2 separate regions of the Homo sapiens genome follow, and region 1 is linked to region 2. The links are contacts of gene promoters, found by promoter capture Hi-C in human tissues and cell types (Jung and others, 2019). All regions are on one chromosome and are shown on one strand. The core of a region is centred on a gene start or on the middle of the fragment in contact, and the rest is flanking DNA. Distances in the headings are between cores, read along the strand shown.

Evidence for each region. Contacts are between HindIII fragments. The study calls those that stand out against the background at their distance.
Region 1: a fragment that was not itself captured here is called in contact with the fragment with the promoter of SNCA in region 2 in 1 of the 25 tissues and cell types used here (hippocampus).

Annotation. Positions count from the first base shown.
Region 1 is chr4:89,791,427-89,797,701 of GRCh38, forward strand. All of the region lies in intron 4 of SNCA (synuclein alpha), which reads right to left. Among named protein-coding and RNA genes, the nearest start is that of SNCA-AS1, 42 kb to the right of the region's middle. The HindIII fragment of the contact is 3,193 bases long and covers 2,898-6,090 here.
Region 2 is chr4:89,833,637-89,839,985 of GRCh38, forward strand. It overlaps SNCA (synuclein alpha), which reads right to left and starts at 3,525. Exons shown (of 6, transcript NM_000345.4): 1 at 3,326-3,525; 2 at 1,911-2,056. The coding sequence starts at 2,031. It overlaps SNCA-AS1 (SNCA antisense RNA 1), which reads left to right and starts at 2,765. Exons shown (of 4, transcript NR_045481.1): 1 at 2,765-3,098; 2 at 4,625-4,770. The HindIII fragment of the contact is 14,325 bases long and covers 1-6,349 here.

The sequences.
Region 1 (6,275 bases), core at 3,244-5,743, 41 kb before region 2:
AAGTTTTAGGGTACATGTGCACATTGTGCAGGTTAGTTACATATGTATACATGTGACCTGGCTACCTTTAAAGATGGATATTGACTCCTCCAAAATGCTTTCACTTGAAAAAAAAAAGAAGAAAAAAACCTCAAAAATGAGAAGGGCTTTCCGACTTGAGGAAAGCAAATCTTTTTAACTTGCACTAGGAACATCACGACATTTTCTTGCCTCTTAGATGGTTTGTATTTTGGATGCTTCTGAAGAGAAACAAAGACATATAGAATTTAAACATTATCTGTGTTTATTTGTAGAATACTTATTTTTTGTATTTTGTTTTTTAAATGAGTATGTCTGATATCTCATACATTTAGAATATTTGTAATAGAATAGCAAATTTCCACCATGGAATCAGTGGAGAGCTATGCAATTTAACAACTGCAAAGAATCTTAGAGATCCTTAGAGTAACACATCCTCTTATTTACAAATGGGGAAACAGGGTATACGAGTAGAAGTGACTTGCCTAATCCATAAGCTAGGGGTACAACAGGGTCATTAGGGCCATCCTGTTCAATTTCTCCCTGATATGATCCTAGCGATGGAGTACCTACCAACTTTCTTTACAATAGCCCAACGTCTAGTATGAGAATCATTCTGTGGACACTCTTCCAAATTGAAACAATCTCCTTGGATTACTCCTGGCACAGCTTATGTATTCTCATAGCCAATCCCCTGGTCATGACTCTGACACTAGTAGATAAAAAGTATCACTCTAATCTCTTGATCTTTTCATCATGCCTTTATTTTTACACATGCAGTACTCAGAGTCTAAACAAACCTTAGCTTGCATTTTCCTCTTAAAAGCCCACCATGGATCTCACAGTTTTGTTGTTGTTGTTGTTGTTGTTGTTGTTGTTGTTGTTGTTGTTGTTGAGACGGGATCTCACTCTGTTGCCAGGCTGGAGTGCAGTGGCACAATCTTGGCTCACTGCAACCTCCGACTCCTTGGTTGTTCAAGTGATTCTCTTGCCTCAGCCTCCCAAATAGCTGAGATTACAGGCACGCGCCACCAGGCCCAGCTAATTTTTGTATTTTTAGTAGAGACAGCGTTTCACCATGTTGGCCAGGATGGTCTCGATCTCCTGACCTCGTGATCCACCCACCTCAGCCTTCCAAAGTGCTGGGATTATAGGCGTGAGCCACCGCGCCCGGCCTCTTGTAGTTTTTAAAATTAAATTTAATCCAATAAAACATTTAGTTTGCCTTTATTTGGAATTTGTTATCTATTGTTATATACTCTATTAATACCTCCTCTTCAGCAAGGAAATTTTCTTACATCTGCTTACACGTACATCATTTGTTAGAGCCCCTAAATATTGGTAATGATGATGATGATATTATAGCATGAATTACTTTACGTTGAACATTGGCCTAAGTGCTTTAAACACATTATTTGCCTAGCATTTACAACATTTTTGTAGGTATTATTTGTCACAATTACATTTTCTTGTTCTATGATATAATTTGTTTTGATATCGTATTAGTTTTCTATTGTTCCCCTACTGAATTACCACAAATTTATTACATTGTGGGATTGTAAGTCTGAAGTCCAATAGGGGTCTCACTAGCCTAAAGTTAAGGTGTCGGCAGGACTGTGTTCTGTTTTGGAGACTCTAGGAGAAAATCTGTCTCCTTGCCTTTTCCAGCTTCTTGATGCCATTCATAGCTTCTTTCATGATCTGGCATCCTATACGTTATACTTATTTTCTGATTATATTTTGCCTAACCTCTGTGAGATATTAATTATTTGAGGGCAGAGATTTTTATTTGTTTGTTCATAACTATATCCAGGTGCCTTAAAATGATGCCTGACACAAAATAGGTACTCAATCAACATAGGTTAATAAATGAATGAGCAAAAAGTTTTATTGTGCATATTAATTGTTACCTGGGGGAATATACTCAGACATCTTAAGTCTCATATGTAAACTTGGGGTATTGATATCAACATGCCATTTTGAGGATTAATTGAGGTTATGTCTATAAATACCTACTAGCATAGTGTCTAGCACATAGTATGAAAACATTGTATTATTATTATTTATTAAAATGGCATTTTGTTTTCTTTATAGCACCTGACACTATCCAAATTGCCTTTTCTGTTTCTTTTCTTTTTACTTATTTCTTAATTGTTTCACAAAGGCAGAGTCTTGTATGCTTTGCCTCTATGTCTTTAGTACCTAGAATAGTGCCTGTTTAAAAGTAGGAGCTGAATAAATGTTTGCTGAATTAATATTAATCATGTGTAGGAAAAGAAGCTTGGGAATGTTATTCTACCACCCACAGCTGTGCCCACTATTATGATGGTTGTTTTGTGTGTTCTTTCTCAAGGATTCACTTTCAGAACTCAAAATGGGGTGTAGGGTGGTGGTGGTGCCAGCAGTGGGGATGGGAGAAGCTCGATCTCTCCCTACAGTAGAAGTGCTTACTGCTCTATGTGTTCTTCAGCCCTATAAGAACCAATGAAAGCCATCCACACTTCCCTCGATACTGGACATCCCTACATACTCACAGCAGTCTGCAAAACATATCCAAGGGCCCACTGAGACACTGAAGATGACCCATTGATTTAATACATATTTGCAAGGCTCTGATTGAGAACCTCTGGACAGGCGCTTATCTAGAGGTTACAGTGTGTGACTAACACGACACAGTTTAGGATTTATGTAACAGGAATATGCTATAGGGAGAGAAAGAACAGAAGACCTCAGTTGACACGGTGGAATTGGAGTGAGAGAGATTTCCATGAAGCCAAGTAAATAGTATTTTGGAGAGTGAAGGAGGAGACATCATCCTTAACTTCAATATTATTATCCTGTGTAGATTCATACTTTGTGTATTTTTTACTTAAGAGAAAAAATAGTAATAATATTCGCTAGGAGAAACACTTTGAAGAAAGAAATAAGTCCAGGAGCCCTGTAATGTACTTTTCCTCTATTTATTTCCCACATAAAATTAAAGCTGTTTTAGTTCTCATCGCATTTATCATCTTGAACTCATTTGCCACATTATTTTATTTAAATATTCCTTAACCTACAGAGAGTGGACTTAACTGCTAAAAAGTACTTAATACATGTTCCCAAGGAACTGCTTCAATTACCACTGCACAAAGGTTTGTTTGTTTTTAATAATACAGTATTATTACTAGAAGTATCATCAAGTCATGGAATGGTCAAAATATTCTTACTTCTATTGCTAGGGTGTTAGAAAGGACTCTGGACTACTTGATGTCTAGATGCAGATAAAAAAAGCAGCTGTTCACTTCACATAAAGTAGCCGCTACTGCTTAAAGGTAAGGGTAAATCTTGTTCACTGTGGATGAAGGTTACTAAAGAGAAGGACTAACATATAAAATAGGTTCAAATATATACGGAGATATAGACTTAAAAAATTAAGACTTCTCCTTCAATTAATATTCCAAGAAAAGAAACTCCATATTGCCATCTAAACACAGAAGCTTTTCTGTAATGGTATTCCAGTGAAAGTCATTTAAATTCGAATAGAAAAATTTAACTTGAGATCTGCCCTTATGAAAAGTGGTGAGAATTCAAATAGTTCTCGAACCCTATTTGTCATATCACTTCCTGAAAGGATACTCAATCTCTTAATTTTTTTCTATTATTTTGTACTTTATGGAAAAATATTTAGGAAGATTATAGAAAGAAAATTTTTAGGAAGTAGCGTCTCTAGTTTTCCTAAAATTTATGTCAAACCCGGCATTATTTATTTTACATATAAAAAGATCATAACTTTTACTCTTTGTTAAAACTATATTAAAACAAAAGAGAAGCAACCCACTAAATAATAATTGATTAATTTCATTTGGAGGTCTTCTATGTTTAGTATGTTTATGGACTTTTTAAACACTGAGGATTCACTAATTTTTTTTTTTTTTTTTTTTGAGACAGGATCTTACTTTTTTGCCCAGGCTGGAGTGCAGTGATACAATCACAGCTCACTGCAACCTCAACCATCCAGGCTCAAGTGATCCTCTCACCTCAGCTACCAGACTAGCTGAGACTACGGGGGTGTGCCACCATGCCAGGCTAATTTTCGTATATATTTTTTTTTTGGTCTAACTGTGTTGCCCAGGCTGGTCATGAACTCCTAGGCTCAAGTGATCTGTCCACCTTAGCCTCCCAAAGTGTGGGATTACAGGCATGAGCCACCATGCCAGGCGAGAATTTGCTTTTAAATGAGAAAGACACAATACCTGCCTTCGGAAAGTTCCCTGTCAAATTTTAGAAATAAATAATTAAACAAAGTTTATAGGCATAATAAGTCATAATATTCTTGAAAAGATATGCAGAGGGTTCCAAAGGAGCACCAACCAACCAGAGGGGAAAATATGGGGGCAACAGAGAGGCAAGAGGTGATATGAGAGAGAAAGCCTGAGCTAGAACACAGAGCCAGGTCATGAATCTGAAGGCAGGAACAACTCTGTCAGCTGTGAGACATGAATTTGGAAGGCTGCTGGGAGAGAAAAGCAGAGATTAGTCGTGCAATTATCTACTTAAGATATTTTGGGCTGGAAGCAGTGGCTCACACCTGTAATTCCAGCACTTTGGGAGGCTGACGCGGGTGGATCACCTGAGGTCAGGAGTTCGAGATCAGCCTGGCCAACATGGCGAAACCCCATCTCTACTGAAAATACAAAAATTAACCAGGCGTGGTGGCAGATGCCTGTAATCCCAGCTACTCAGGAGGCTGAACTAGGAGAATCGCTTGAACCTGGGTGGCAGAGGCTGCTGTGAGCTGAGATTGCACCACGGCACTCCAGCCTGGGCAACAGAGCGAGACTCCATCTCAAAAAAAAAAATATATATATATATATTTTGAAGTCTAGAGATGAATTCCAGAAATAAGGTATACAGAAAGTGAAACTGTAGGACTTTGTGATTGACTAGAACTGAGGGACAAGGGAGAGGGAAAGGGAAGAGTTGAAGATGATGGAAACAATAGATTACAGGAAGAGGATCAAATTTAGGGGGAAGAAGATCAGATCATAATCAATACAACTTAATTCCACATGTTCTGAAAGTTAAATATCTCCTCTAGCCAAAAGACCCTTCCTATTTTACTTCTCTGGACCTCTTAATGTTTCTTTGATGTTTATTCCCCTGCACAAATAATTTAACCCCTTTACAGATCCAAAATTTTATAGTAGGCAAATATTGTAACCCCCTTGAAAATGTATGTTATGAATAGCCTTTGTAGGTGATATTTTTGCAGTTTGGTAACTTAGGACAAGGTCCATTTTCCTGTCCCTTGTTAAATGTCACAAGACTTCATCTTCTCTACCTATATATCACAAAGTACCTTCTGCTCTGCTGATCACAAGGTAATTAAGTTTTGGAGTGGAGGAGTGTCTTAGGTTTATGTTCATGCATTAAATATAAAGAAATCTATGATTTTTAAAAAATTAACTATATTGAGGTATAATTCACTTACAATCATATGCACTCATTTTAAATGTACATTTCTTGAGTTTTGATGCATTAATAAACCCATGTAACGACCACCACAATTGAGAAATCATATATCTTCATTATTTTCCCCAATTTTCCTTTGTGCCTTTTTCTAGTTAATTCCTTCTCCTTCTCCTCCACCTCCACCCCAGCCCCATGGGGGTAGCCATGAAGGTACACCTCTTGGATCTTTTCTCTCCAATTAGCTGCCAGGAGTGCTATTGGCCTCCTGCTGCAGCAGCAATGGGATCCACCACAGCACAGGAACCCAGACTGGCCTCCAGCCAATGACTGGGAGCAGCAAGGAAACTACAGCCCAGACATGTCTGCCTAATGCATGACTCCTCAACAAGTAACCTTTGTTGGAAGCCAAGACTTTCTTGTAACTGCACTGTAATCTGTGGCTATTCCTACCCAATTCTCCTTCCTTCTGCCTCCCTTTGAAGTGATATCACAACTACATTGTGGTTTTTCCTTGCCTGGTTTTTCTCCTGTTCTCTTTCTACCTTTCATAGCTATTGCCTGCAATAAATCTCTTGTGGATGGTTGTAATTCTAACACCATCTTGGAATCAGCTTCCTGAATGACTGAACTGATGCCTCTACCTCCAGCAAGCATGGATCTTGTTGTTACCATGGATGACATTTGTCTTTTCTGGAATTATAGTATGTACTGATTTGTGCCTGGCATCACACAGCATGATAGTTTTGAGATTCATCCATGTTGTTGAGGTTATCAGTAGTCCATTCCATTTTTGTTGCTAAGTA
Region 2 (6,349 bases), core at 2,275-4,774:
CGGCTAATTTTTGCGTTGTTTGTAGACACAGGGTTTCACCATGTGGCCCAGGCTGGTCTCAAACCCCTGGGCTCAAGTGATCCACCAGCCTCGGGCTCTCAAAGTGCTGGGATTAAAGACCTGAGCCACGGCACCTGGCCAAGACATAGATCTCATGGCTTAAAATACGTGCTATCTGATTCCTTACCCAAAATTTTGCCAATCCCTGGACTATACTATTGTGTCTTCACATGGTCATTTTTTATCTTAAATTCTGTGTGTAAGTTCAACTCTCAATTAGAACTCAGAATGTAACCAATAAAAAATTTATAGAATGTGCTATGTGTTAAATGCCATGAGAGACATTGAAAATGATTTCAATGAACAGTTAAAAGGTAACTAAGTCAAAGAAACTTGTGCTTGCAGAACTTGGAAATCTGAGGACAAACGGAAAGATATTGATAAACTGCATGTCACTGATTCAGTATTCCAAATTCCATCTAAAAAGGTATAATTCACACTTCATAAAATATTTAAAATTAACTCATCAATTTTTTCCTCTTGTAACACCCTATTTCAATGACTTTCTGAAAATATGTTTTAAGGTAGAAAAAAAGTAATTTAATTGAAGATTTGTGGGAAGATTAAGTCAACATAAGAAAAGTCTAAATAATGAGGCAGTGGCACATGCCTATAATCCTGGCTACTCAGGAGGCTGAGGTGGGGGCATGACTTGAGCCCAGGAATTCAAGGATGCAGTGAGCTATGATAGCATCACTGCAGTCCAGCCTGGGCGACAGAGCAAGGCCCTGACTCTAAAAACTGAAAATAAAAAACTGAAAAAAAAATGTGTTGTGAACTTTGATGAGATGCATTCATATAAATCATCCCAAGTATAAAATTTCCCCCACTGATCTATGTTGAAGAGATAGTGTAGCTTTCTTTCACTTTGCAGACATAGACGGAGCACATGTTTCAGCTAGGCAACTCAATGTGGTCATCCTCCACCTGACTGTTCATCCTGTGACTCTTACTGCTATAGTTGCCACCAGAGAATGTGAAAAAGCTCAGAGGAGAAAGAAGAGAGGAAGAATGGGCAATGTGTCTGTGTTGAGTGTGTGTGTCTATGCCTGTGGATGAGAGTGTGTGTCTATTCTTTTCCAAGGAATTCAAAGTGGTTTGTAAAATAACACTCAATTGAATACAGTTCAAGTTACAGAAAAGAGAGTCAGAGTTTGGGTGTATACCCCAAGGTGGAACTTTAGGAACAAGTAGGTAATAAGCATCAATTTCTTTATTCTTTTAGTATGTGTGTCATTTGATGGATGAACTATACAAATGTTTCTGAGAGATTAGTAGCAGCCCTCAAGCACTTTTCTCTGTCCTCAGTGTTCACAGAGACCAAATGATCACATGAAGTAACTCTATCAAAGACTAATCTGTTCTTTCCATTTTAGGGCCACAAATAGGTCTCTTTATACACATCACAGGGGCATATCAAAGTCATATTTTAAAAATCAGAATGGATTAAAATTGACAAACATTTTTCATGATGGTAAAAGAAATCACAGATCCATCAATGATTTTGATTCTTAAGAATATTCTTGATTATTTTTTAAAAGACTATGAGTTTTTAAAACTGTTCTCTGAAATAGAATTATGTAGGTACAGAAACATTCATTTTTAAAAAGTCATAAATATTAGGGCAAAATTAAAAATCTGGAAAAGCAAACAGTCGCATTTTTTACTATTAGCTCAAATACACACGTTCACATTCACCTACCTACACATACCTCTGACTCAGTCCACCTTTTTGACAAGCAATGATGCAAAAATGAATCAAGAGAGAGAACTACCAGCATTTAGAGTATTGATTATCCTAACCCATCACTCATGAACAAGCACCAAACTGACATTTGGGGTTTACCTACCTACATAGAGAACACCCTCTTTTGTCTTTCCTGCTGCTTCTGCCACACCCTGTTTGGTTTTCTCAGCAGCAGCCACAACTCCCTCCTTGGCCTTTGAAAGTCCTTTCATGAATACATCCATGGCTAATGAATTCCTTTACACCACACTGGAAAACATAAAATACACTTTGAATGAGAACTTTCGGGGAAAAATAAACAAAAAACACTGAAAAATCATGAGAAACCCTCCAAAGTGTGAGACTCTTTTAAGTGTACACTCATTTAACCATTGGACAAAGCAGACATTTTTAGCTCTGGCATTAAAAATTTAGCATCTCCCATCCATCTTGGCTAGTAAAAGTCTAGCCACCTAACCACGGATTAGGATGAATCCTCTGAGTTGTTATTACTGCATTTCAGAAGTGGAGTTGCATGAAAAGATTAACCCCTTTTTTAAATTCCCGGGGTCTAAAGGGTAACAGTATGAGTTAGAAGCATGGAAGCTGGAGGCTTAGGGTCAGGGGTATCCTTAACATGAATCCCAGAAGAAGGCTAACAGGTTGATGGTGGAAAGGCGTAGGCAACAGAACTAACTGCTCACTCGGGGTGTGGTTCAAACTCAGGCAAACAGCAGGCCCAAGTGTGATGGTTCTAATCCATCCAACATCCACCCCCGCCCTCAGCTATCTACCCTGAGCAGGCGCCGCTCACACTCGCGGGCCGTCTCCAACCCCGCGCCAGCCACCCGAGGGGGCGTTCTCAGCCTCCACCCTAGCGGACCCCGCGCCAGCACTTGTTAACCCGTTACCACCTGTTGACTTGGCCTCCTTGCACTTCCATTTCATTATTTGCCAAACGCAGCTTGCTTACTTTACAGAGAAAAACCAAGAGAGCGGGCAGACAGATTTTATGTGAGAGAAAAGTTGGATGCTCACGCTCCATGGAGCATCCTCGCGTTTCCCGGGGAAAAGCGGATCCCGGAGAAGCAGCCTAATCTCTCAGCCCTTGTGGAGAAGGGAATATCAGAAGCAGGACGAAAGCCAGGTCAAGTCTCTTTCCTTAGGCTCCCCAAAGGGACAAGTACTCACCTCCCAGAGACCTGGCCCAGCGGGTCCTCATGGCAGCACCACCCCCTCCCGGTGCCCACGACCATTCGTCTCCCATCCGGCGTTCTCCAGGATTTCCAAAGACGCCCGTTTAGATCCACAGGTACTTACCTGAGTCCCTCTGCTTCTCCACAACTCCGACTCCTCCCCGCCTCTCTCTTTTTTTAAAAAAAAAATTTAAACAATTCCCAAATAATATTTAATAGGAAAGAAGAAGGAAAAGGAGCGCACAGGAAGGGCGGAGGCGGCACCCGGGGGGGACTGTCCCCAGAGGAGGCCGCTGTGAGCCGGCGACGCGAGGCTGGGGGAGTGGGAGGCAAACCCGCTAACCTGTCGTCGAATGGCCACTCCCAGTTCTCCGCTCACGAGGGTGGAAAGGCAGAAGGCTTGAAGGCAAGGCGTGAGGGAGCGCCCAGGACGCTCTCGGAGGGGCCGGGCCGGGGTCTGCGCTGCAGCCCGCACGCACCTCACTTCCGCGTCGCGGCGCTCGGTCGCTCGCCCCCTCTCTTGGGCCCCTTCTGGTCGTCGCCGTCCTCCTCCTCCTAGTCCTCCTCCTTCTCCTTCTCCTCGGCTCTCCGCCCCCACCGCTGATTTGTCAGCGCTTCTGCCCGCCCCTCTCCCGGCGCTCGCTGCTTTCCCTGCAGCGTGCTCCTCGTCCCTATCTCGGATGGGGATGGGGCAGGGGGCGCGGGGTGAGCCATCAACTCCAGCCGCCTGCCTGGCCGCGCAAGGCGGGAAAGTGGGGGCGCTTTTGCGCCTCACGTTAAGTTTAGGGTCACGAGCACTCTTGTGGAGATCGGGAGCGGTTGGGCTAGGGATGATGCCTCTTCCTCTTTCCCCTTCCCCTCCCTTCTTGTCCCCGCCTTTCCTCTGGGTCCTCCCGGGGACCACCCCCTACCCCTCGTCAGAGTCGCCCTGGGAGAGCCGAGGGCCTGAGGGTCGACCACCAAGGGCAGAGCCTATCCCTTGGGGAGCTGCTGGAGGAGACAGGCAGCGCCGGGAGGTGGCTCACACCGCACCGCCGAGAGCGCTTTGCCCTCGCATCGCTGAAATTTAATCACGGTCACAGGTTACAACGTTAGGGGTCGCTTTAGTTCAAATATCTTCAAGGTTTTCGTTTGCTCTTAATCTAGGAAGAGCCGGAAAGGGTCCTGAGGGTGAAAGGGAGACTACTAAGGAAGAGTCACAGGTTGAGGAGGCAGGAGAAGGCTCAGCAAATCCTCTTTCCACGCCACTATCACCATTTTCCTTTCCACCAATCAGCGCCTGCCAGACGCTGATTTTCCCATCAGTGGAACAAGGAATAAATATTCCCCAGCCGTCTAAAACAAGCGGTCCTAAGGCTTTTCGCTCTAGAAATGGGACTTACTTTGCAGACCTCCCTTTATCTGGGAGACAAATCCAGCGTGATTTAGCCTACCGGACCATCATATCCAATTTCTTCTTCAGCCCCTTCTGAAAGGGAGATGCTACACACCACTCACCTTTCTGACTTCTGATTCTCGTTGCCCTCAGAATTGACACCCCCTTTTCTCTCCCCCCACCCACCACACGCACATGCACACAGACATACACACGCGAACTTCAAGACAATTTTTGCATCGCTTAACACATTTTCACCTCTTTCAGAGCTGGAAGACAGCTGTTCCTGGATCACACCAGAATGGAGAAGCAAGCTCCTCCCACTAGCAGAAAGCCTTTGCTTTCTGTGCCTGGATTCGGAAGATTAGTTAAGCACTGGAAGAGGAGGGGGGAAACAACAACTCGTTTTTGCTGTATGTTTTTTTTTTAATTGTTTTTATATTTATAGAAAGTTATGCTTTGTCTGATTCTTGCGCTAATTTGGGTTCTGAAATTTGAGTAAAATCAAATTTAAACATACAAAACAACTTTAAAACCACAAGGAACAGGAAGCAAATGATTATACATAAAAGACATATAGAAGATAATGCATATGTGTTCAGTGGAAAATAGAAAAGCATGAAAGTAAGATCACAAATATTTATTATTTAAACTCTTCCTTGAACTATTGGTCTGCCCTTTGGAAAAGCAGACTTTCCTTAATGCAGTAGCTCATATTAATATTTTTTGTTTGCTTAGGACCAGAGCAAGAAGGTTGGACTTGGGAGCTAGTTTGCTGTCTGGCTTTGAGACCTTGAACAAGTTTTGTTCTCCTTCTGTTTCCAGTTTTCTTTTTTGTAAATTAGGAGATTAACTCATGTGATCACTCTATTTTCAACTTTTTGTTATGGGAAATATTCAAACATATGCAAAAGTAGACAGAATAAAGGACTCTCATGTGAAGATCATCCAACTTTTACATTTTTTCAATGCATGGCTGATCATGTCTCATCCATAAGTCCACTCACTTTATCACTACCAATCCTCCCTCTTTTTTTTTTTTTTTTACCAAATTCAAGCTTTATATATATCTTTTCAGCTGTAAACATTCAGTATGCATCCACAAAATTTAAGGACTGTTTAAAAATAACCACAATATCATTAGATGATTCTTTAAAATTGCAGTGTAATTTACACCTAGGGAAATGCTCAGATGTTGTGTCCCTTTAAATCAGTTTTGAAAAAGCCATGCATTAGTGTAACCCACACTATTTTGAAGACACAGGACATTTTCATCATTCCAGACAGTTACCTTGTACCTTCATGTGCATATTCTAGAATGTCATAAAGATCTAATCACGTAGTATAAACTTTGTTTTATATTTGTCTGACTTCTTTTACTCAGTATAATATTTGTGAGGTTCGTTCATGTCGTTGCATGAATGGGTGTTTTGTTTTTTATTGCTTTTTGTTGTTTCTTTTTACTACTGTTAATAGTATAAGTTTTCCATTGTGCCTCTTTACAACTAGTATCTCAATAGAGTATTACAACAATTATTTAATATATTATTTCACATGACATATTTATAGTATAACCATGACCTCCTTGAGACCTAGTGCTTTAAGTCAAAGAGGTAAATAAAATGAGATATTTTAGGTCTCATTACAACAGACCAATGTGAGAGAATTATTTCTGGACAGTTGCACTTCTTATAAACGTTTAACATGATTCCAAACTTTTATTTGGTAATTTGTTAGTCCTTTGGCAAAGGACTAATGTACTATGTTATTTAGTCATAACAAGCAGATCAATTACATTTTATGTAACTTTTATAGACAGAGAAACTGAGCTCCAAGAGTTTTGGTGATATGCTGAGATCACCTAGCTATTTTAAGTGGCAGAGCTGAGACAATTTAGCAGAAACTGTTACAGAAGGCACAATTGTCTCCTGAATTAGCAGTTTGTGTCTGAAGCCTCACAGATTGGGTGTGGTAAAGAGTGAGAAGGAAAAA